Regions from separate parts of the Homo sapiens genome. Here all the other regions are linked to region 1. Evidence: promoter capture Hi-C in human tissues and cell types (Jung and others, 2019). All regions are on one chromosome and are shown on one strand. Each heading gives the region's core, a stretch centred on a gene start or on the middle of the fragment in contact. The rest is flanking DNA. Distances are from core to core; before and after follow the strand shown.

Evidence for each region. The method cuts DNA at HindIII sites, captures the fragments that hold promoters and counts their contacts. A contact is called where the count stands out against the background at its distance.
Region 2: a contact is called between a fragment that was not itself captured here and the fragment with the promoter of SHISA6 in region 1, in 2 of the 25 tissues and cell types used here (bladder and hippocampus).
Region 3: a fragment that was not itself captured here is called in contact with the fragment with the promoter of SHISA6 in region 1 in 2 of the 25 tissues and cell types used here (spleen and thymus).
Region 4: a contact is called between a fragment that was not itself captured here and the fragment with the promoter of SHISA6 in region 1, in 3 of the 25 tissues and cell types used here (liver, mesendoderm cells and thymus).
Region 5: a fragment that was not itself captured here is called in contact with the fragment with the promoter of SHISA6 in region 1 in 2 of the 25 tissues and cell types used here (mesendoderm cells and neural progenitor cells).
Region 6: a contact is called between a fragment that was not itself captured here and the fragment with the promoter of SHISA6 in region 1, in 2 of the 25 tissues and cell types used here (neural progenitor cells and spleen).

What each region holds. Positions count from the first base shown.
Region 1 is chr17:11,239,464-11,242,826 of GRCh38, reverse strand. SHISA6 (shisa family member 6) reads right to left here and starts at 1,614. Exons shown (of 6, transcript NM_207386.4): 1 at 767-1,614. The coding sequence starts at 1,404. The HindIII fragment of the contact is 17,378 bases long and covers 1-3,363 here.
Region 2 is chr17:11,365,073-11,368,435 of GRCh38, reverse strand. All of the region lies in intron 2 of SHISA6 (shisa family member 6), which reads right to left. Among named protein-coding and RNA genes, the nearest start is that of SHISA6, 130 kb to the right of the region's middle. The HindIII fragment of the contact is 3,398 bases long and covers 1-3,171 here.
Region 3 is chr17:11,348,126-11,351,488 of GRCh38, reverse strand. All of the region lies in intron 2 of SHISA6 (shisa family member 6), which reads right to left. Among named protein-coding and RNA genes, the nearest start is that of SHISA6, 110 kb to the right of the region's middle. The HindIII fragment of the contact is 8,299 bases long and covers 1-3,363 here.
Region 4 is chr17:11,147,013-11,150,375 of GRCh38, reverse strand. No RefSeq gene overlaps it. Among named protein-coding and RNA genes, the nearest start is that of SHISA6, 93 kb to the left of the region's middle. RefSeq lists an enhancer at 1-227. The HindIII fragment of the contact is 6,732 bases long and covers 1-3,363 here.
Region 5 is chr17:11,320,058-11,323,420 of GRCh38, reverse strand. All of the region lies in intron 2 of SHISA6 (shisa family member 6), which reads right to left. Among named protein-coding and RNA genes, the nearest start is that of SHISA6, 81 kb to the right of the region's middle. The HindIII fragment of the contact is 9,815 bases long and covers 1-3,363 here.
Region 6 is chr17:11,169,114-11,172,476 of GRCh38, reverse strand. No RefSeq gene overlaps it. Among named protein-coding and RNA genes, the nearest start is that of SHISA6, 70 kb to the left of the region's middle. The HindIII fragment of the contact is 5,074 bases long and covers 1-3,363 here.

The sequences.
Region 1 (3,363 bases), core at 365-2,864:
ACTGCCATAGTTTGAGCTCTTGGCGTAAGTTTTGGTAGGAGGCAGCTCCCACTGTCTTTCGAACGTAAGCAGTGAAAGATGCCCCACCAGGTTTAACACAGGCGAGTACTGTTAACTCAGAGTTCTGCCTACAGGGTTTCAAAGAACGAGTCCTCTAGTCTCAGCAGGAAAGATAAACATCCCACTCCGCAGGATGCAATGAGGAGACACCATCTGTGCTTGGTCAACATGGAATGGAGAAATCTTTATCCCTACTTCCGGCAGGAGGCATCCTTTCTATAAAACCCCAATTCCTAATGTACGAGAACATCTCAGTTGACCCTAAGCCACTTGGTACCGCTTTCAGTAAGGTTCCAACATTGGTCAGTTTCCTATATTGAAGATGACACTCTGATTTGACTCAAAAAACTAAATGCCATTAAGAACCTACACCAAAGTGCCCTCATGCCAGGAAAGCAGAACCCTGGATCCTCATCCACGATTACAGAATTTGTAACATTCTTACACTTGGAACTTCATGCACTCAACCAATTCTTACTCTGCCTTGTAAATCCCCCTACCACCAAAGCATGCATTCCCGGTTCTGAAGAAATGGAGGAGGGGGCACAAGAAGACCCTGATTTATTGCATGCAAAAGGAGCGATGGTGGAAATGACTAGAGGGCCTGGGGAGGTGTGATGATGCCGAGAGTGAAGAGGACAGGGGAAGCAAGCTGAGAGGGTGAGGCCGCGGGGAGACCGGGGCGCGCGGCACGCGGCGCTCTCACCTGTGGATGTTCATCTCCCGTGGAGGGCGGTGGGCCTTGTCGTAGGAGACCTTGGCGAAGACGCCGGCCACGATGACGAAGGCGATCACCCCGCAGGTGATGTAGACGGTGAAGTTGGTCTTGTCCTTCTCCGGGTCGTACTTGTTCTCGGGCCCCGGCGACACCACCTTGGTGCTGGGCGTCTGTACCCACACCGGGCTCTGGTAGTTGGTGCACTGGCGCTGGTCCAGCTTCTCGTGGCGCTTCTTGCAGCAGAAGCGGTAGTAGCAGGTACCGCAGCAGTACAGGTAGCCGCTCTCGCTGTTGTTACACTCGAACTCCTTGTCGTACTGGCCGCTCACGTCGTAGTAGCCCCAGCACGTCTCGTAGGTGACGGCCGCGCTGGCCGCCGCCGCCACAGCCGCCGCGGGCTGCCCCCGCCGGCTTCCCGCCTCCGGGATTCCGGGCGCCCGGGCGGTGCCGTTCAGCTCGCGGCCGCCCCGTGCCAGGGCGCCCCCGGCCCTCCGGCCCCCGACGGCAGCGCCGCCTGCACTCAGGGTCCGGTTGGCGGCGCGGCCGCGGGCTCCGTGGACGCTGGGCAGCAGGTCCAGGGACTCCAGCGAGAGCAGCAGCAGCAGCAGGAGGCGCCGCAGCGCCATGGCGGGGCCGGGCGGGAGGGCGCGGGGAGGCTTCCGCGGCAGGCCGCTCCCCCGGCGGGCCGGGCTCGGAGGACCCGCCGCGCGGGCCGGGCTGGAGGCGCTGAGCGGTCAGCGGCTCCGGGGCGATGGCGCCATCGAGGCGCGGGCGGCAGTGGCGGCGGCGGCGCGCGGTGCGCACGGACCGGCCCGGCGCGGGCTGCTCGGGCTCTCAGGCTGCGCGCCGGCTCCGCGCTCCCCCTGCGGGCTCGGCGCGCCTCCTGGGCAGCCCCATCCCCCGCCGGCGGTGACTGCGGCCCCGCGCGCGGCTCGGCTCAGGCAGGACCCGAAGCGCGGCTCCGGGCGGCGGCGGCGGCGGCGGCGGCGTGGTCCCGTCCGGGCGGGTCCTGCGGGACAAGACGGGGAGCCGGTCACGGGGTGGGGCGACTGGCGCTCCGGGAGCAGGAGGAGAACCGCGGGCAGGCGGGCGGGGAGGGTGCGCGCAGCCCTCGAGGAGAGAGACTCGGAGCCGGGAGGGGCGTAGAGCCCGCTCCCAAGACGGGGTCCCGCGGCCCTGCGCGCCTGGAACCGAGAGCGCACGGGCCGCCCCTCCAGGCGCAGCTCGGCCGCCCGGGTCCCCCAGCCGCCCGGCCCCGCAGCGCGCTCCCGCCGCAGGCTGGCTCCCTGGGACGGAGCCGGTTGAGGCTGGGGTCCGGCGGCGAGCCGGGAGAGCGCGCGGCGGCTGGACCTCACTCACTCACCATGCCCGGCTGCGACTGCAGAGGCGGCGGCGGCGGCGGCGGCGGCGGCGGCGGGGCGAGGCGGGAACGCAGCTGCCGGAGCGAGCGAGCGGAGAGCCGCCGGCTCGCCGCCTGCACTAGTGCCGGAACGTGTGCGAGAGTGAGCGAGGGAGACACACGCACTCACACACCCGCACACACGGGAGCGCCGCGAGGGGAGGGGGGACAGGGGAGGGGAGGGCAGCCGCTCTCCGCCACCCACGTTTGCACGCCCGGGCGCTCAGGGTGCGGGGCGGGGGGGACTCCTTTTCGCTTCTTCCGGATCGCAGCAGTTGAAGCTCCGCGTCACGAAAGCTCCGGACAGCAGTTATTCGACACGGCGAACCCGGCGGGCGAAGAGGGGGCCGGGAGCAGGGCGGAACGTCCGCTCTGCAGCCGGCCCGCGGCAGGGACTGACCTCCCCTGCCATTGCCTTCTCTAGCCTTCGCGACCAGTCCCCACCCTACCGGAGCCCGGGGCAGCGCGCTGCCTGAGCGGGAGTTGGGGTTTCTGCAAGCCTTTGCCTCTCCCTAGTGGTGATACTCGCAGCCAGGAGAAGAGGTCAAACCCATTGCTACAGGTTCCCAAACTGAGTCCAGGGGTCAAGTGGCTTGTCTGAGGCTGTTGGGCGACCCGTGAGCTGAGCCTACACTCTCTTCCCCTTGGTCACTCTTTCCCCAACCCCGTACCCACTACGCATAAAGGCGCTAGACAGCCCCAGGACTGGATGGCAACTCTTTGCTATACTTTTTTTTTTCCCCGCGGAGCCTCGAGGCCATTAGAAAGCTATCTGAACCTCTGAGACTCAGCTTTGTAACCCCTGTGTTGAAATCTCTGTGCTGCAGCTCCTATGGGAGGTGAGGAGGATGGGGGTGCAGGGCGGGGGTGCTTTCCGGGGTAGTTGCGTGTCTGGGTCTGTGGAAAGGAGGCCTGAGTCTAACTTTCACAGCTACGAGGCCATCCCAAAAGAGAATCATAGTACCATCCTTGGCGTGTGTCCTTGGAGGAGGTAGGGGGAACTGAGAACAAAAAGCGATGGCCAAGGCCAAGATTCTGCCTGCGTGACCAGCGTGCTTTGGTTGAAGGCAGGGAACTGAAGGCAGGGAACAGGCTGTCAGAGCGAGGGCGGTAGAGAATTTTCCCTGAGACTTTCTGTTCAGTCCCACTCATGTGTGACCTAAACAAGGGATCCCTATCCAGGAAC
Region 2 (3,363 bases), core at 223-2,722, 130 kb before region 1:
TACCCCATACTTCTGGGAGAGTATCAGTTTTCATGCTGGTAATGTCATGGTTTAGGGCACTCACTGCGATTCTCCTGAATGTGCTTTGGAAAAAACAGACCCGCTAATTAAGATTAGTAGGAGAAAACACGTCAGCTCATCTCACCTCCAAAAGGAAGCGCTCCATCTCACACCTGCCTGCACTGGTTCCTCTGTGATTCTGTGATCCCTGTCTTGCTCCTGACATGCTGGGAAATTTCATGTTTGTGTGGGTTGGACCATGTCCTTGGCTCTGAGACAGAATTTGCTTGGACACACCGAGTCTTGTACTGTATTGTCCAAATGTAGTCACGTGTATAGAGCGTCTTGTGGGATTTTGTCATCTATTGTCTCTTGATTCTTTGGAAAAGTGGGTCATGTGAGTGACTTGGGGTTAGATTAATTCAACTTTGGGAAGATGATGGAACTATAAGCACTCTAGGTGGGGGAGCTGTCCGGCCAGCATCTGCTCAAGGGACCACACCTCTTCCCAAGCACCTAAGAGAGAACTTTCCAACCCAGAGCAAAATAAACAATTGGAGAGGGAGAAAATTTGAGGGGCTAAACTATTTTTCAGACTGTAATGCCCAGTAGGAAGGTGATTTCATTTGCAGACTGTTATACCCTGAGCCTTCCTTGCCTCCTTATCCAGTTGTGTTGGCATGGTCCATCCTCAGCATCCTCAGCCTCCATCTCATTCCATGCATTCACTCAGCAAAACCGCCAGTGGTGAGAGCCCACCAGCTACATCTAGTAGATGTGGGACTTTAGATGTAAAGGGCTTAGAACAGCACCTGGGGTGTGTTCACCAATATCACTGTGACTGCCCAGGGTCTCTTAGAATTGAGAACCACAAGTTTCAAAGGGCCCCTCACCTCTTGGGAATTGTGCTTTCCTTCCCTGGAATGTTGGTTCTTCCAATTCCCAAATGTTTTTTATAGTTTCTGCTGTTCCTGAAACCTCCAGTGTTCCCTGTTCTCTGTGCCCTTCAACTCATGACCTTGCCTCATCGGAAAGGAACTCTGTTGTTCACAGGGAATTTACAGCCATCCCCTTTCTCTGTCCTCCCTGCTATGAAAGTGAGTCCAATGTCCTTGTTCCAAGCATGGCCTATCCCTTTTCATCATCTCAAGGACTTAGCTCCTGAAATTCTCCCTCTCCTCCTCAGTCATCAATTTCTCTCCCTCAATGGGCTCATTCATACTGAAACTTCTCAACTCTTATGACTTTACATGTTCTATTCTCCCTTCACCCCATTCCCCCAGCCAAGTCACCGTCCCATTTCTCCACTGTCCTTCTCTATGAAATGTCAAAAGAGTTGCTGATAGTAACTTTCTTTGCCTCACAGTTTGTCCTCAATTCCCTCTTGCCCATCCTGTAGGTCTGTCTGTCCATCTCTCCTTTCCGTTCTTCTTATCACCATAAATCCTTATCATATGGATTAAAGTCCAACCTAATTCAGTATGACCTCATCTTAATTTGATTATATCTGCCAAAATCCTGATCTCAAGTAAGGTTCAGCAATTCGGACTTCAACATATCTTTTATGGGGGCAAAATTTAACCCATGACAATGGCCAAAAGAAAACTTTATTCCTGCAACCCTCCACATACACCATTTCTCCTCCAGTCTTTCTTGTCATTGCTTCCTCTGTTCTAGAGCCTTTATTCCTCTCTTCATCTTCTCCTCCCTATCATCAGCAAGGCCCATCAGGACGATTTGCAAGCTTCATTTCACATCCACCCACTCTTCTCCATCTGTCCTGCCACCTCCCAGGAGTGCTGCCACCATCCCTCATCTGACCTGCTACAGCAGGAGGACTGAGCTTCCTGCTTCCACTCCTTACCCACTTCCATCGACTCTCTAGATTCTCTGCATAACACACAGAAAAGTCTTCTCCTAAAAATAGACATCTGCTCATTCTATGCCTCTCCTTAAAATCTTCCAAGGCGTCATATTACACTTAACATACAAATGTAGCTGGGCACAGTGGCTCATGCCTGTAATCCCAGCACTTTCTGAGGCCAAGGCAAGCAGATCACTTGAGCTCAGGCACTTGAGACCTGCCTGGGCAACAAGGCGAAACCCCACCTCTACAAAAAATTAGCTGGGCATGGTGGCATGTGCCTGTAGTCCCAGCTACTCAGGAGGCTTAGGTGGGAGGATCACCTGAGCCCGGGAGGTGGAGGTTGCAGTGAGCCAAGATCCTGTCACTGCACTCCACCCTGGGTAACAGAATGAGATCTTGTCTCAAAAATATACATATATACAAATGTAAAATAATCTACAGGACATTACACACCATGGCCCTGCCAGCTTCCCTCCCTCACACCACTTTTCCCTTGGCTCCCTATAGCCATAGCAAATTCCTTCTGTTTTTCTAGCATTCCCAGCTTATGCCTGTCTTACATCCTTTGCACTTGCAGTTCCCTCTTCCTGGAACTCTCTGTCCTCAGATGTTTGTAAACCTAGATTCTTGTTAATCATTTAGATTTTTATTGTAAGGCTTGCCTCCTGAGAGAGACTTTCTCTAATCACCCAATCTATTGTAGGCTCCCCAACATTCTCTATCACATTACTGTATTTTCATCAAGGGCATGTATCATTCTATAAAACTATCTTGTTCACCTACTTGGTTATTGTTTATTGTCCATCTCCCTTCTTAAAGCTTCCACAAGAGGGATATCCTGTACCTAGAGCAGTGCTGGGCACATAGGATATATCTGTTGATAGTTGCCAATGGATTAACGGACTAAATGAACTTCTCTCAATATTATTAAATTCCTGTCAACTGTCTAAGAAAACTTTATAACATAAAAATATAACTTTAAAAATAATTTGGCTGAGTGCAGTGGCTCACGCCTGTAATCCTAGCATTTTGGGAGGCCAAGGCAGGTGGGTCACTTGAGGTCAGGAGCTTGAGACCAGCCTGGCCAACATGGTAAAACCCCATCTCTACTAAAAATACAAAAATTAGCTGGATGTGGTGGTGAGTGCCTGTGATCTCAGCTACTTGGGAGGCTGAGGCAAGAGAATCGCTTGAATCTGGGAGGCAGAGGTTGCAGTGAGCCAAGATTGTGCCACTGCACTCCAGCCTGGGTAACAGAGTGAGACTCCAACTCAAATAATAATAATAATAATAATTTCAACCAATAATATCCTTATATGTAGGACAACCTTAATAGAATAAGGGATTTCTTTACCTGAATAGTATCAATTGCAGTAGTAATAATAATAATGATAATAACAGTAGCTATAATAGTTATTATTTAATACTAAGTATTTATGAGCGAGAGCTTCTGCTTTGTAATCACTACCTCATTTAATCTTCAGAAAACTTCTTGA
Region 3 (3,363 bases), core at 585-3,084, 110 kb before region 1:
TGAAAGATGAGTAGAATTTTTACTAGGTAGGTACTTTGATGACTGGATATTAAAGGAAAATGGAAAAGCATGTAACAATATGTAGATAATTGTTTTCAGAGAACCATACATGACTAGGTAATTGGATATTCAGGTAGGCATGACAGGAGATAAAGACGGGATAGTATTTTTTGTTTATTTATTTTACTTTAAGTTCTGGGATACATGTGCAGAATGTGCAGGTTTGTTACACAGGTATACATGTGCCATGATGGTTTGCTGCACCTATGAAACCATCATCTAGGTATTAAGCCCCGCATGCCTTACACATTTCTCTTAATGCTCTCCTTCCCCTTGTTCCCCACCCCCCAACAGGCCCCAGTGTGTGATGTTCCCCTCCCTGTGTCCATGCATTCTCATTGTTCAACTCCCACTTATGAGTGAGAACATGTGGCATTTGGTTTTCTGTTCCTGTGTTAGCTTGCTGAGAATGATGGTTTCCAGCTTCATCCATGTCTCTGCAAGGACATGAACTCATTCTTTTTTATGGCTGCATAGTATTCCATGGTGTATATGTGCCACATTTTCTTTATCCAGTCTATAACTGATGGGCATTTGGGTTGGTTCCAAGTCTTCGCTATTGTAAACAGTGCTGCAATAAACATATGTGTGCATGTGTCTTCATAGTAGAATGATTTTATGCCATGCTATGGAGTTTTTAATCTTTTGGCCAGTATGAAACTAGTAAGGAATTTTGAGTGAGGGAATGGCATGACCAGATTTATATACTAGAAAAAATGCTCTGATCACTCTACAATAATTAAATAAAGATAAAGGTAAGATAAAAGGCAGAAAAATAGTAAGCAGAATAGTTAATGGTCCAGTGAGAGATGATTGACAGTGGACTGAGGGAAGAGGGGATAGAACTGAGATGTAAAGAGAAGGAATCAACTAGATATGATGTTTGATTAGATATCTGATGAGGCTCTTGGTTTGGTTTCTTCATAAGCTGACCCTTAAATGGGTCCTCGGCTGGGCACGGTGGCCCATGCCTGTAATCTCAGCACTTTGGGAGTCTGAGGTGGGTGGATCACAAGGTCAGGAGATCGAGACCATCCTTGCCAACACGGTGAAACCCCGTCTCTACTAAAATGACAAAAAAATTAGCCGGGCGTGGTGGCAGGCGCCTGTAGTCCCAGCTACTCGGGAGGCTGAGGCAGGAGAATGGCGTGAACCCGGGAGGCGGAGCTTGCAGTGAGCCGAGATCGCGCCACTGCACTCCAGCCTGGGCGACAGAGCGAGACTCCGTCTCAAAAAAAAAAAAAAATAAATAAATAAATAAATAAATAAATTAGCCGGGCATGGCGGTGCCTGCCTGTAATCCCAGCTACTTCGGAGGCTGAGGCAGGGGAATCACTTGAACCTGGGAGGCGGGTTCAACAAAAAAAAAGGTGGGGAGAACATGGTTTTCTATGGCTTTCAGAAAGCCACCCACAAAGAAAATGTGAAAGGAACCATTTATCCAGATAAGCAGAGGATGTTTCTGCACTCTCCTTTTGTCCCTCTTGGGTCTTGCATTTCCCCTTAACGTTTATTAACAGAAGGCCCAGTGCAGGGGCTTAACCCTGAGCCCACAATCTTCCACTTCTATTCATTTTGACTCTCCACGTGATTCATTTTTGCCTGTTTCCAACCTATTGCTTTGAAACTCTTAATCTGAATAATCTCTCTTTTTCAAGAGGCCTCATTTCATTCCTTCCTTCCCATCAGTTATCTGACTTAGCAGATAGTGGAGCTGACTGACAGGTAGAATACTGCAGACATTTGGAAAGTGCTGGAGCTTTGTAAACAAAGTGGTTGTCTTTAGCACTGACTTACACATTCACGCGTCCCCCATCCCCAACTGTGGCTGCTCAGCTACAGAACTCACAGCCCAAGGAGGCACAGTCCTGGCATTTACAGTTATCTTCAAAAGTGTTGACCCATAAAATCCATACCATAAATAACTTCCATTGTTACTATGTAGGTGGGTGACAAAAGCCTGACTCAATGGACTTCTGCTAACCAAGCACAGAAAACGATGTCAAATAATCCTAGGCTGATGTATTTACTCCCAAACCAACTCTGAAATCATAGAATCTGAGAGGGGTGTTAACCTAAGAGGTCTGAGTCACGAGCTGATAAATAGTTTCTTTCTGGCCCAATGTGAAAGCTGCACTATGAACAAAATAATACCTTTGGGGGATGAGGTCAGGCCCTCTTTTGTTGTGGATCCATGATGGGCAGAAACAATGGCGAAATGGAATGGTAAATTTATGTGGTGGGAACTCCAGCCAAATTTTTATGGCCAGGCAAGATTTTATACTTCTTTGCAAGGCACAAATAAATGAATCTCACTAACATGTTTATCCAGTGGCATAAAATTAAACCAAAGGATCCCAGACCAAACACAACCTTTAGCTTATTTTGTACCCTGGTGCAGAGCTCCTTTTTTATGAATCCCCCAAAGCTGTAGGAGCTACGCCTATGGTTTCCCCCACTAGTGAAAGCACAGCCAGATGAGTAGGAGAAGCAAAAGAATGGCCAAGTTTCATGATTTCTGTTCTGATACTTGTTTCTATGTTTGCTCAACTCTTCCTATCAGTGGGAAGAATATAAATGCTTCACAAGATAATTATGTGGTTTGAAAGTGAGCAATCTTGATACAAACATGAAATATTATTCCATTTTACTACTTAGGATCTCGAGTGTTAAAATATACAGATTGGGTAGACTGTTAAATATAGGCCCCAAATGAACTTGTTTCTTATGAAGGAAAAGAAAGAGGAAAAAAGGGAAGAAGAAAGAAAGAAAAAACTCAGGGTAGACACTGCTGAGGACCAATAGAATAAAAGGAATAAAACTTCACTCACTAACTCAGACCAAGATTGAGGAGGCCTATTGGGATCATAGAATATTTTTAAAGATGGTTCTATAATTATTAAATTATTTTATAACTATCAAATAATTACTAAATTATTGCATTAAATAATTATTTAATTCTTTTAAATATAGAGGGTGACAAGTGCCGTTAGCTCATCAAGAATTGCCAAGAAAGTCTTTAAAGCCTGCTTTAACAAGAGGCAAAAAATCATTTATAGTTGACATCACTCACGATCTGCAGGTGCATGGCTATTGTTCAGTTTTTGAGAATCATGTATGTTCTTAAGAAGATAGAACACACTGATCCCTGTTTACATAAACAAATAACTTACCAACTCTTTTTGGTCCCATAAATAGAGCAAAGCTAAGCTTCAGCTGAGCTCCTGACCAGACCTTCACAAATTTCAAAGCAATGGGGCCCAATTAAATGCAGTTTCACCATATGTACTCTCAACATATGGA
Region 4 (3,363 bases), core at 374-2,873, 92 kb after region 1:
ACAAAGGAGTTGCTTTCCAAAATAACTTTTTTAAAGCAGAAATTGTTCAGTGCCATAAGGGAGGCCCAAATCAAGGGCTCTCAGCTTTCAGAGGTGTGAAGAATTTTTTCCAGCTTGGATGAGCTCAGGGAAAGCTTAGTAAAGGATGTGGCATTTGAGAAGATGGTCCCGAGGAGTGAGTAGAGTAACCTACACGTCAGCCTCTTCTCGTTTTGAAAGGTCAGCTGCTTTTCATGTATACGGGGAAGGAGAAAGGGCTTCATTTACAAGCCTTCCAAGACTCACCATTCTGCTTTGCTTCCCACGGCTCCCAGCTCTATCTTGGGCCTCTGACCGTTTATTTGGGAAGGAGGTTTTCTCTAGGATGCCTCTTCCTCTGCGTGGCACCCTCAGAAGGGCAAATTGGCCAGGCCCTACTTCCTTCATTATGCTGTTCTTCACAACACTGCTGGTAGGCATATGTGCATGTGTCTACCGCCATAACATGCAGAACGCCTCTGATCTCCTTTGATATATATGTATATGTCTGTATGCATGTCGACTGTTCTGCAGGATTGTAATAACAAAAGGAAACCATAATACAAGAGCACAGATATCTAAAATTTCCGTTGCCATAATACAAAGGAAAAACACAATATGAAATCCGTATAGGGATGCTCTTATGGGCTCCCCTAATTCCTAGCCATACACCCTTATTTTGGGGGTCTGCTCCTTATTGAGAAGCATCTCTCCCTATTCTCCTTCCTGTGATTCATTATTCATTTCAGCAAAATGTTCTTCCTCCCTGCAGAGACTGATCTCAAACCAGTAGCTGCCTCCTTCCCCACTAGCAGAACTTTTATCTAGCTCTCAGTCCATTTAAGACAGTATCCCAGAGAGAGTTGATGGTGGACTTGGCATCCCCAGTCCCACAGAATCGTCCCGAGCTGGCCTGGACACTCCTCATCCGGTCCCCTTGGGGTCTCCATACCACAGTGAGTTGGAGACAATCTTCATAGCCTATTGATTGCTCATTGGAAGCTGTGGGCTCTCCCTGCAACCTTGCACTCATCAACCACACTTTTCTCCACTGCACGTACACACAGCTCTCAAAGATAAATATTAACTATCAGATCTATTAGTCTAAGCCCATAAAATGGAAGAGAAATACTTTTTAAATATCCCCGTAGTTTTCAAAGCCTCTTCTCTCCATGTAGTTAACACCTTATGTAATTTACCTTTGAACAATGTAAGTACTCCCACCCTTTCAAACTGTGACTCCTAGGACCTGTTGAAAATAAGAAATGGGCCCATTTTCCAGCTTTATGCCGCTTAAGAACTGCTCTTATAACTACCCAAACGCCTCACAGAGGTTTTGTAATTAGTTCTGGAAAGAGCTAGATTAAATTCTTAGCCAAGGGACATTCTCTTCCCCATTCTCTTCCCCAGAGTCCCTGAAGGAAGAGAAAAAAAGATGGTTTTGTTTCTCTAGCAATATAAAATTATAAATTTTGAGATACAAATTGAACTGGGAGGACAGATATTCAAAGTGGAGAGATGTGAGTACGAGCCCAGTGGCTGAACGTAATGGACATAACCTAGTTTAAATTAACTTGTCTAAAAACGGGAAAGCAATTAATTGCATATATCTATAGGGGGGCATCAAATTAAAGGTAATGTTTTCTCATTTCTTTGAAAATGTTTTCGTAGTTTTATTTATTTACTTGTTTTTGAGACGGAGTTTCACTCTTGTCGCCCAGGCTGGAGTGCAGTGGCACGATCTCGGCTCACTGCAAGCTCTGCCTCCCGGGTTCACGCCATTCTCCTGCCTCAGCCTGCCGAGTAGCTGGGTTTACAGGCGCCCGCCACCATGTCCAGCTAATTTTTTGTATTTTAGTAAAGACGGGGTTTCCCCATGTTGGCCAGGCTGGTCTTGAACTCCTGACATCAGGTGATCCACCCGCCTCGGCCTCCCAAAGTGCTGGGATTACAGGTGTGAGCCACCACGCCTGGCCTGTAGTTTAAAAAATTAATTTAAAAAAGAGTGTCAGCTCACTAAAACGAAAACACGAAATCATTTTTTTTTCAATTTCTGCTGCGACTTGTGTTTCATTCAACGTTTCCCCCACGTGATAGTGGATTCTCCTCCCGATAGCACAGTTGAATTCCATTGTTCTTTGATCACTTTTAGTTATTAGATCCGTCTTACATCCTTTCTCTTAGATTCAGTGTTGTTTATTTTGATGGTTAATTTTATAATCATTTTAAGGTCCTCCTCACCAATCCCTGCCTATAGGGGTTACACTTGTGGCTCGTGGCTTGAATATAGAGGTGGCACATACCGCATCGATGTCATAGCCCAAAGGAAGGAGAGGAGTGCCACGGGGCCCTTATTGGCTGACCCGTAGCAAAGTCACCACTTCTTTCTGTTGGCTTTTGTCTGTTTTCCGACAGCCAGTAGCCATCGATTCTAACTGTGTATCAAGTCTCCAAGACACATAGCTGTCAGATTCCAAGAATACTGGTTATTTCAGAGAGGGTGTTGGCTGGTGTTTCTGAGAGCCCTGGGGGACCCACTGCCTGCACATTCCTTTGGATTTGTTTCTCAATTTCAATATATCCCCCTCCTCCCAAAACTCACTACAGGCCTATCCCATCTTGCTTCTTTGTCCCCCATACCATGCCTGCAGCCTTATAGGCTGAAATAGCTTCAAGATATCTGGAGCTATCTACCTTTATGTCTTAGAAAACTTACACATCTTTGCCACATGAAAATGTGAGGAGTTCTGGCTCCCCCACGGAAGTCTCCCCCCATTGCAGCCGTATCTTCTCTCTTCTACCTTTATTGACATGCCCTACTGGTAATTAGGTTTGCCAGTCCATTCGTTTGTCACCTTTCTGACAAGATGATCTTCTCATCCCAGAATTAGTGGAGGGAGAAAAGATTTAGGCACTTCCCACTGTGTGGTGGTTTGTCTTGGTGGCGCCTTCCCTCAGCCTTGGAGAGAAGAGAGAGCTACTTTTTGTAAACATGACATTTCTTCAAAATGCCACCTCCTCTCTCTCTCAGCCATCTTTTTATATTAGAGTGGTGCGTGGGGAGTAGGTGGGCAGTGCTAGATTTTCTGAATGGCATCATTTTACACACCCTGAAGGAAGAGGACTGACTGCATAGCTAGTGACCCCCTCAACTGAAAATGTAGGGTACGTTGCAAATTTTCTTTTTCGTAGTGGACCGGAGTAACTGTTATGGACTGAATGTTTGCATCCTTCCAAGTTCATCTGCTGAAGACTTAACCCCCAATGTTGTGGTGTGAGGAGGTGGAGCCTTTGGGAGGTAATTAGGTTTAGAAGAGGTCATGAGGATGGAGTTCCCATAGTGGG
Region 5 (3,363 bases), core at 603-3,102, 80 kb before region 1:
GGCCTCCCAAAGTACTGGGATTACAGGTGTGAGCCACCGTGCCCGGCTCATGTGTTATTATTATATGTATTTGATTGTTATGAGGACAATGACCTTGAAAAATCCTTTCTCTCTGTCTCAGGTTCCTTATTTGTATCATAAAGGAAGTTGGATGAGATGAGAGCCAGCTTTCTATTATTCTTTGGTTTGGGAATTATTTTAAGACAAGCTAATGAAGTTTAGATAAAATTAGAACGGTTTGAGATTTAAAGAACTCACCCTGTTCTCAGTGATAGATTAAGGAACAGAATGGAATTCCAAGTTCTTTTGTGAACTTGCTTGCTGAAGGACTTGTGAAACATTTGGTCCTGTGGGCATAGGATGGGAAGACTGGTTAACCTGACCCGAAAAGAATTTTTCAAGAACACCAATGTCAGAGTGAATCACTCCTTTCTTCCCCTAGTTTAACTCTTTCTGCCTCTTTCTCTCAAACTTCAAACCTTTGGGAACCCTTAACTTCTAAAGAAAAATCTCAAAATTTTCTCCTCAACTAAGCACCCTACTGATACCCACTCTTCCATCCCCCACCCAATGTAGCCTTTAAAGAATGGATGTAGTTCCACATTTCTTTTGTAGGAGCCTGAAAATCTTTAGGTTAGATACTTGATAAATGCACTCAAATAGAAATTCAGCATTTCACATTCAGATCAACCCATGTATGCACATAAGAAATTCTCCAACAGGGATCAAATATACTGAATTGGTACCCCTAAGAGGAGAATGATTTTTTGCAAATTAATTAATACAAGTTAGGTTTTTGATTCTAGTATAACTAAATAGGAATTGTATGCCAGTATCTCAAGTCCTCAGCATGTCCTTCGCAACTTTTCTGTAAATCTCATACTGTTCTAAGTTAAGATTATTTTAAGAGAAAAATCATAGCAACTCAAAGATATAGATAAAATTTAAAAATTAAGGGCAAGGCAAAAGAGATGTTTTCAGATAAATACAAGTTAAGAGAATTTATCACCAGCAGATTCACTCTATAAGAAATTGTAAAGAAATTTCTTTCTACTAAATGGAAATAGAGCCAAGGGGAAACCTGAATATCTAGGTGAGGAAAACAAGTCCTGGAAATGGTAAATATATAGATAAATACAAAAAACTCTTTTTTTCTTTTTTACGTTCTTTGACTGAAAAAAAAGGTGAAACAATGTAGAGTGGGGCTTAGAACATATGTAAGAGTAAAACTTATGTCACCAATAGACAAAGGATGGAAGGGATATAAGTAGGATAATACTGCTGAAAAAACCTTACATTGCACATGAAAATAATGTTAACTCATAGTAATGGTAGATACTGATAAATTAAAGAGACATAATCCCTAGAGCAACCACAAAAAGAGTTGTTTAAACTTAAACAACTTAAGTTTTAAATTACTTTAAAAGCCTATAGAAGAAGGGTGTCCAATCTTTTGGCTTTCCTGGGCCACAATGGAAGAAGAAGAATTGTCTTGAGCCACACATAAAATACACTAACACTAACAATAGCTGATGAGCTGAAAAAAAAATTACAAAAAACTCTCAATGTTTTAAGACAGTTTAGGAATTTGTGTTGGGCCACATTCAAAGCCATCCTGGGCTTCATGCAGCCTGTGGGCCACAGGTTGGACAAGCTTGCTATAGAAGAAATGGAATCCAAGCAAAGAACAAAACAACAATAGCAGCAAAAACTTGATTAGCCTGAAAAGGATCAACAAAGAAACAAAAAACGGAGGGACCAGCTAGAAAATAAATAACAAGATAGTAGATTGAAACTCAACTATATAAATAATTACATTAGATACAAGTAAAACAGTGCAATTAAAAGGCAAGGATTGTGAGACTAGCTACAAAAACAAGACCTACCTATACGTTTTTGTAATTGATGCTTTTTAAAAATAAAGTCATAGACAAGCTACAAGTAGAAAGATGCAAATAATCTACCGTGCAAAATCTCAAATCCCTGACTAATATTGTTGGTTGCCAATCCAGAATTCATTCTCATTCCTTTTCTTGTTTGCCTACCTTTCCTAAAGAAGCTGGAAATGTTAACCATTCATGTTACTAGCCTCTCTTGCAGCTAAGAGTGGCCATATAATCTAGTTCTGAGGTAGAGGTATGAACAGAAACTTCCTGACACTGCATTAGCTTTCCTGATACATACGATACATATAGCTAAAATCCTATATCTCCATTAACCCTACCTCAACTATAAAAGTGATGCATGGCACTATAGTAGATAACTTGTGACTTGAGGATCAAGGCCAATACAATGACAAAGATGCTGGCTAGTATATCACTGAGCTGCTTCATAAATACTTCATCCCTCTTATTTGGTGAGAAAAATATACGCCACTTTGTTTATGTGATATTAAGTAGGTATTTAGTGTTTTAAAAAAGCAATCCAAATTTCTAAGTTTAATACAGACATGAAAGAGCATTTTCTGGAATCTACATCTGTATATGATCTGTCTGGTATCACATTTCCCACCCTGAATTACACTCAGATGATACATTTTCACAAAATGATGATTCTCTGGAAAACAAGGTATGTCACACCCATACATGAGTTCTCTGCCTCCTGAAGGCATTATTATGTCATGCAAAAGAAAAGGATGTAGGCTCTAAAAATGAGTGCTTCTCACAGATGTCCCTTTAGTTGCCTGTGTTTTGCTCCGGCTGCTGCTGCTCCTCCTCCTCCTTGGTTTCTTCTCTCTCTCTCTCTCTCTCTTTTTTTTTTTGGTGATGGAGTTTCGCTCTTGTTGCCCAGGCTGGAGTGCAATGGCACAATTTTGGCTCACTGAAGCCTCCACCTCCAGAGTTCAAATGATTCTCCTGCCACAGCCTCCTGAGTAGCTGGGATTACAGGTGCCCACCACCACACCCAGCTAATTTTTGTATTTTTAGTAGAGACGGGATTTCACCATGTTAGCCAGGCTGGTCTTGAACTCCTGACCTCATGATCCACCTGCCTCAGGCTCCTAAAGTGCTGGGATTACAGGCATGAGCCACAGCACCCAGCCTCTTCTCTCTCTCTCTTATACCAGCCCCACCCCCCATGCACAAACACCAGGGAATTACAGACTGGGGAATTAAGACCTATTGCTTCCCAATTTCTCTGAAACAGCTTATTTGTCACTTAATTGTTAAGCATCAAAGCTATCTACAATGTACCCAAAAGAGTCGAGATACAACTAAGGTTCAGAATAGTTTTCTTCACTATGTCCACATAAATGATTGAAAATATTTACTTAAGAAATAGAAGACTTCTGCTCCAACAGCCTACATTAATTTCCTCATTCCCTGAATGCCAGTTCATCTATTAAACATGAAGTATTTACTA
Region 6 (3,363 bases), core at 375-2,874, 70 kb after region 1:
TCTCGGCTCACTGCAAGCTCCGCCTCCCGGGTTCACGCCATTCTCCTGCCTCAGCCTCCCGAGTAGCTTGGACTGCAGGCGCCCGCCACCACGCCCAGCTAATTTTTTTGTATTTTTGGTAGAGACCTGGTTTCACCGTGTTAGCCAGGATGGTCTCGATCTCCTGGCATCATGATCCGCCCGCCTCGGCCTCCCAAAGTGCTGGGATTACAGACGTGAGCCACCGAGCCAGGCCTGTGTGCTGGAATTTCTACACTTAAGTCTGTTGAACAGCTGTGCTCAGACAGTACTACTAAACCAGAAGCCAGAACCGCTTTGACCCTGCCACACAGGCATAACATAGGCAAGCAGCCTACCCATTAACTTAGAGGAAGAAATCCTAGCGGCTTACCATGTCCTTTAGACCTGAGGGACGCAGGAAGAGGAGAGAGACCTTTGGACTCATGGGTGGGAGGTGTTTGGTAGGTGGAAGAAGGCTTGATGAGAGGGTATTTAGGGCTGAAGGAAAAGCAACCAGAGGTGATGACACTCGCTCTGCTGGTTTTAGCAGCTACAGTCACACCTTTTGCCGATCAACGCCTACCCAGTACTGCTTTTTCCGGAAACACTGAGATATGGAAAGTTGCTGTAGGGATCAAAGGAAAAATCTCCCGTTTGCCTTCCGAATATTTGCTGAAAATCAAATGAAAAAGGCAAATTGATAGGAGAAAAGGCATACATATTTATTAACATGCATGGGAGGATATCAGAGTGATCTTCCCACCACACAGTAGGGTATGGGTGCTAAGATACCCTTCTTCTTAGGCGATAGGGAGGTGTGGAAGTATAAACAATTTTGGGGGGTAGTAATGATTTTTTGGGGAATTCAATGGCCTTGAAGAACATACAAAGGGCCTAGGACAAAGTCTGTACAGTCCGCAGACCAGATAATGGTTTGTAACAAAAGTCTGTCCAGGTATGTTGACAGATTTCAGTCTTTTTTCCTGCGATATCAGTTCAGTGAATGAAACTCAGGGAAAGAACCAGAGGTCATTGTTTTCTTTTTTGGCAGGTTTGGACTTCAGGCAGATAAAGGAACTTCAGAGAACAACTTCATCCTATGCTTGGAGAGAGACAGAGATGGGAGGGGAGGAGGAGAGGTCAGAGAGAATTAGAGGCTGCTTCAGTTCTGCATGTTCACAGCACCATATTTTGGGGTATCCACTTCTGAGCCCCAACATTGCTTATCCAGCAGCCTACCAAGTTGTTTTCAGTTTTACTTTAATTGACCCAAAGCTGGCTAATGCAGATATGGAAATGGTCCCTCCCCTAGCATCCCTCGGTGCAGTCAATGAGGCTTAGCGAGAGTACCCAGCATACAAGCAGCTCAGACAGGGGCACCCTCCGTGACCCAGATCAAAGAGATAAGCAACTTGTTTCCGAATGAATTATTGGCTAGAGCAGGTTGGGAGGCGCTCTCATTTTTCTTACAGAGAGCAACCTTGGAAAGGTCTCTCGAGGGGTAGGAGGCTAAGGAAATTCAAGAGATCTCAAGCACTTGAGCTGCGTTTAGTTTTCCTGGCTCACATATCTGATCAAGCCTTGGAATAGTTATCAGGGGCTTTCTCGATTCTTTGCTTCTGTCTCCAGGCCTCCCAACCTGTGGTTAAAAATGAGGTTGCGTCAGTGTGAATTGGATACTCAATGCTGCTGACTCCTGGTCTCTCTACTTGCTCCTTGTAACCTTCCCAAAGCCCCACTGGAAGTGCTCAGGTCCTCAGAGTGTTCACAGATAGCCCTCCTAAGTCCTTCTTCCCTGAGCTTCTTGTCGATGTCTGTGGCAATGTGGCAGCTTGAATGAAGTGCTACCCCACCACTGCTAAGGCTGCCGTGGATTTCCACACAGAATGCTGCTGCTGCTCCCAGCACGCTATCTCCCAGTTCAGCCAGGACTGCAGCGCCCTCAAGACAGTACAGCCAGGTTGTGTCACTGATCCCCGTGGCATTGATCTCAGCATGTGAGCTGGGCTGTCTCCTGTGGTTTTTGCCCAGCAATGGGGAGCATGCCTCCCACCAGCAACTCTCAGCTTTCCTTTTTGTCACTGGAGCCTCAAAGTCTATGCCCCGAATGACAGAAAAATGGTTACTTTGTTTTTTACATCCAGCTTTTCTCTTTTCAGGCAGGGCTAGGGAACAGACACCTGGACTGGTCCGTGGCATGCCTTCTGTCACATCCTTCCTTCCAGGAAGGTTCTTCTGCCTCCTAGACCCTTTCCATATACTTGACTCTATGCAAGGCTCAGCATAATTCCCTTCGATAGGCCCTCAAGTTTTCTGGAGACCTTCCCCAGATGTAGGTGCTGAATAAGAAGATGTGAGATACTATATCATACTCACCATCAAACCCATCCGTTAACTCTCTTCTCTTCTTGGTGCTTCACTGGGTACCACAGAGCATGGCATCCCTGACATGTGCTCTGACCTCACTTAGCATCAACTTCCAGCTCCTATTTGTCTAACACCAATAGCACTCTGAGTTTCCTTCCTGAGCCCCCAGTGGAGTATGAATGAACTCAGTTTATATTAGACTGGCGTGGTGGCCAGTGCCTGTAGTCCCAGCTACTCAGGAGGCTGAGGCAGGAGAATGGTGTGAACCCGGGAGGCAAAACTTGCAGTGAGCTGAGAACGCGCCACTGCACACCAGCCTGGGCGACAGAGCTAGACTCCGTCTCAAAAAAAAAAAAAAGACATGCTTACTGCAGGCTATCAGAAACGGTTTTATTTATTCAGTGTTGAGCAATCTTAAAGTCTACTTCTGCAGCTTGCAACTCACAGTTTCCAAGGGGGATCAAAACAAACAAGAAGGCAGAGATCCAAAGACTAAAGCCAGTCTCAAGCCATCATAGAACATCAGGGGCAACCTGAAAGGGGGAATTGGCCATGGAAGGGCAGCCTGGTCGGTGTGTGGAGAGAGGGGAAGGCCGGCAATACTGGCTGCAGAGTATGGACTAAAGGCCTGTGAAACAGCAGCCTCTTCCCCATTGCCCGAGCTGCTGAATTACCAACAAGAGTGAGTGAGCAACCCTTCAAAGGATGCTCACTCAGGCCCCGCCACACTTTTCCCTGAATCACTGGACCCACCATCATTTGCTGTCAGAGTTAATTCCTCCAAGACAAGGATTCCTTGATATAATGTTATTGAACAAAACAAGCTTGGATTGCCTTCTGGCTTTACAACTCACCTCCTGAATGTCTTTGGTGTTAAGTAACCTCTCTGTACCTGTGTTTCTTAAGCTGTAAAATGGGAATAATAATATCACTATTGCAGGGTTGTCATGAGAAATCAATATGATGAAGCATGTCAAGTGCCCGGCACAGAGCCTA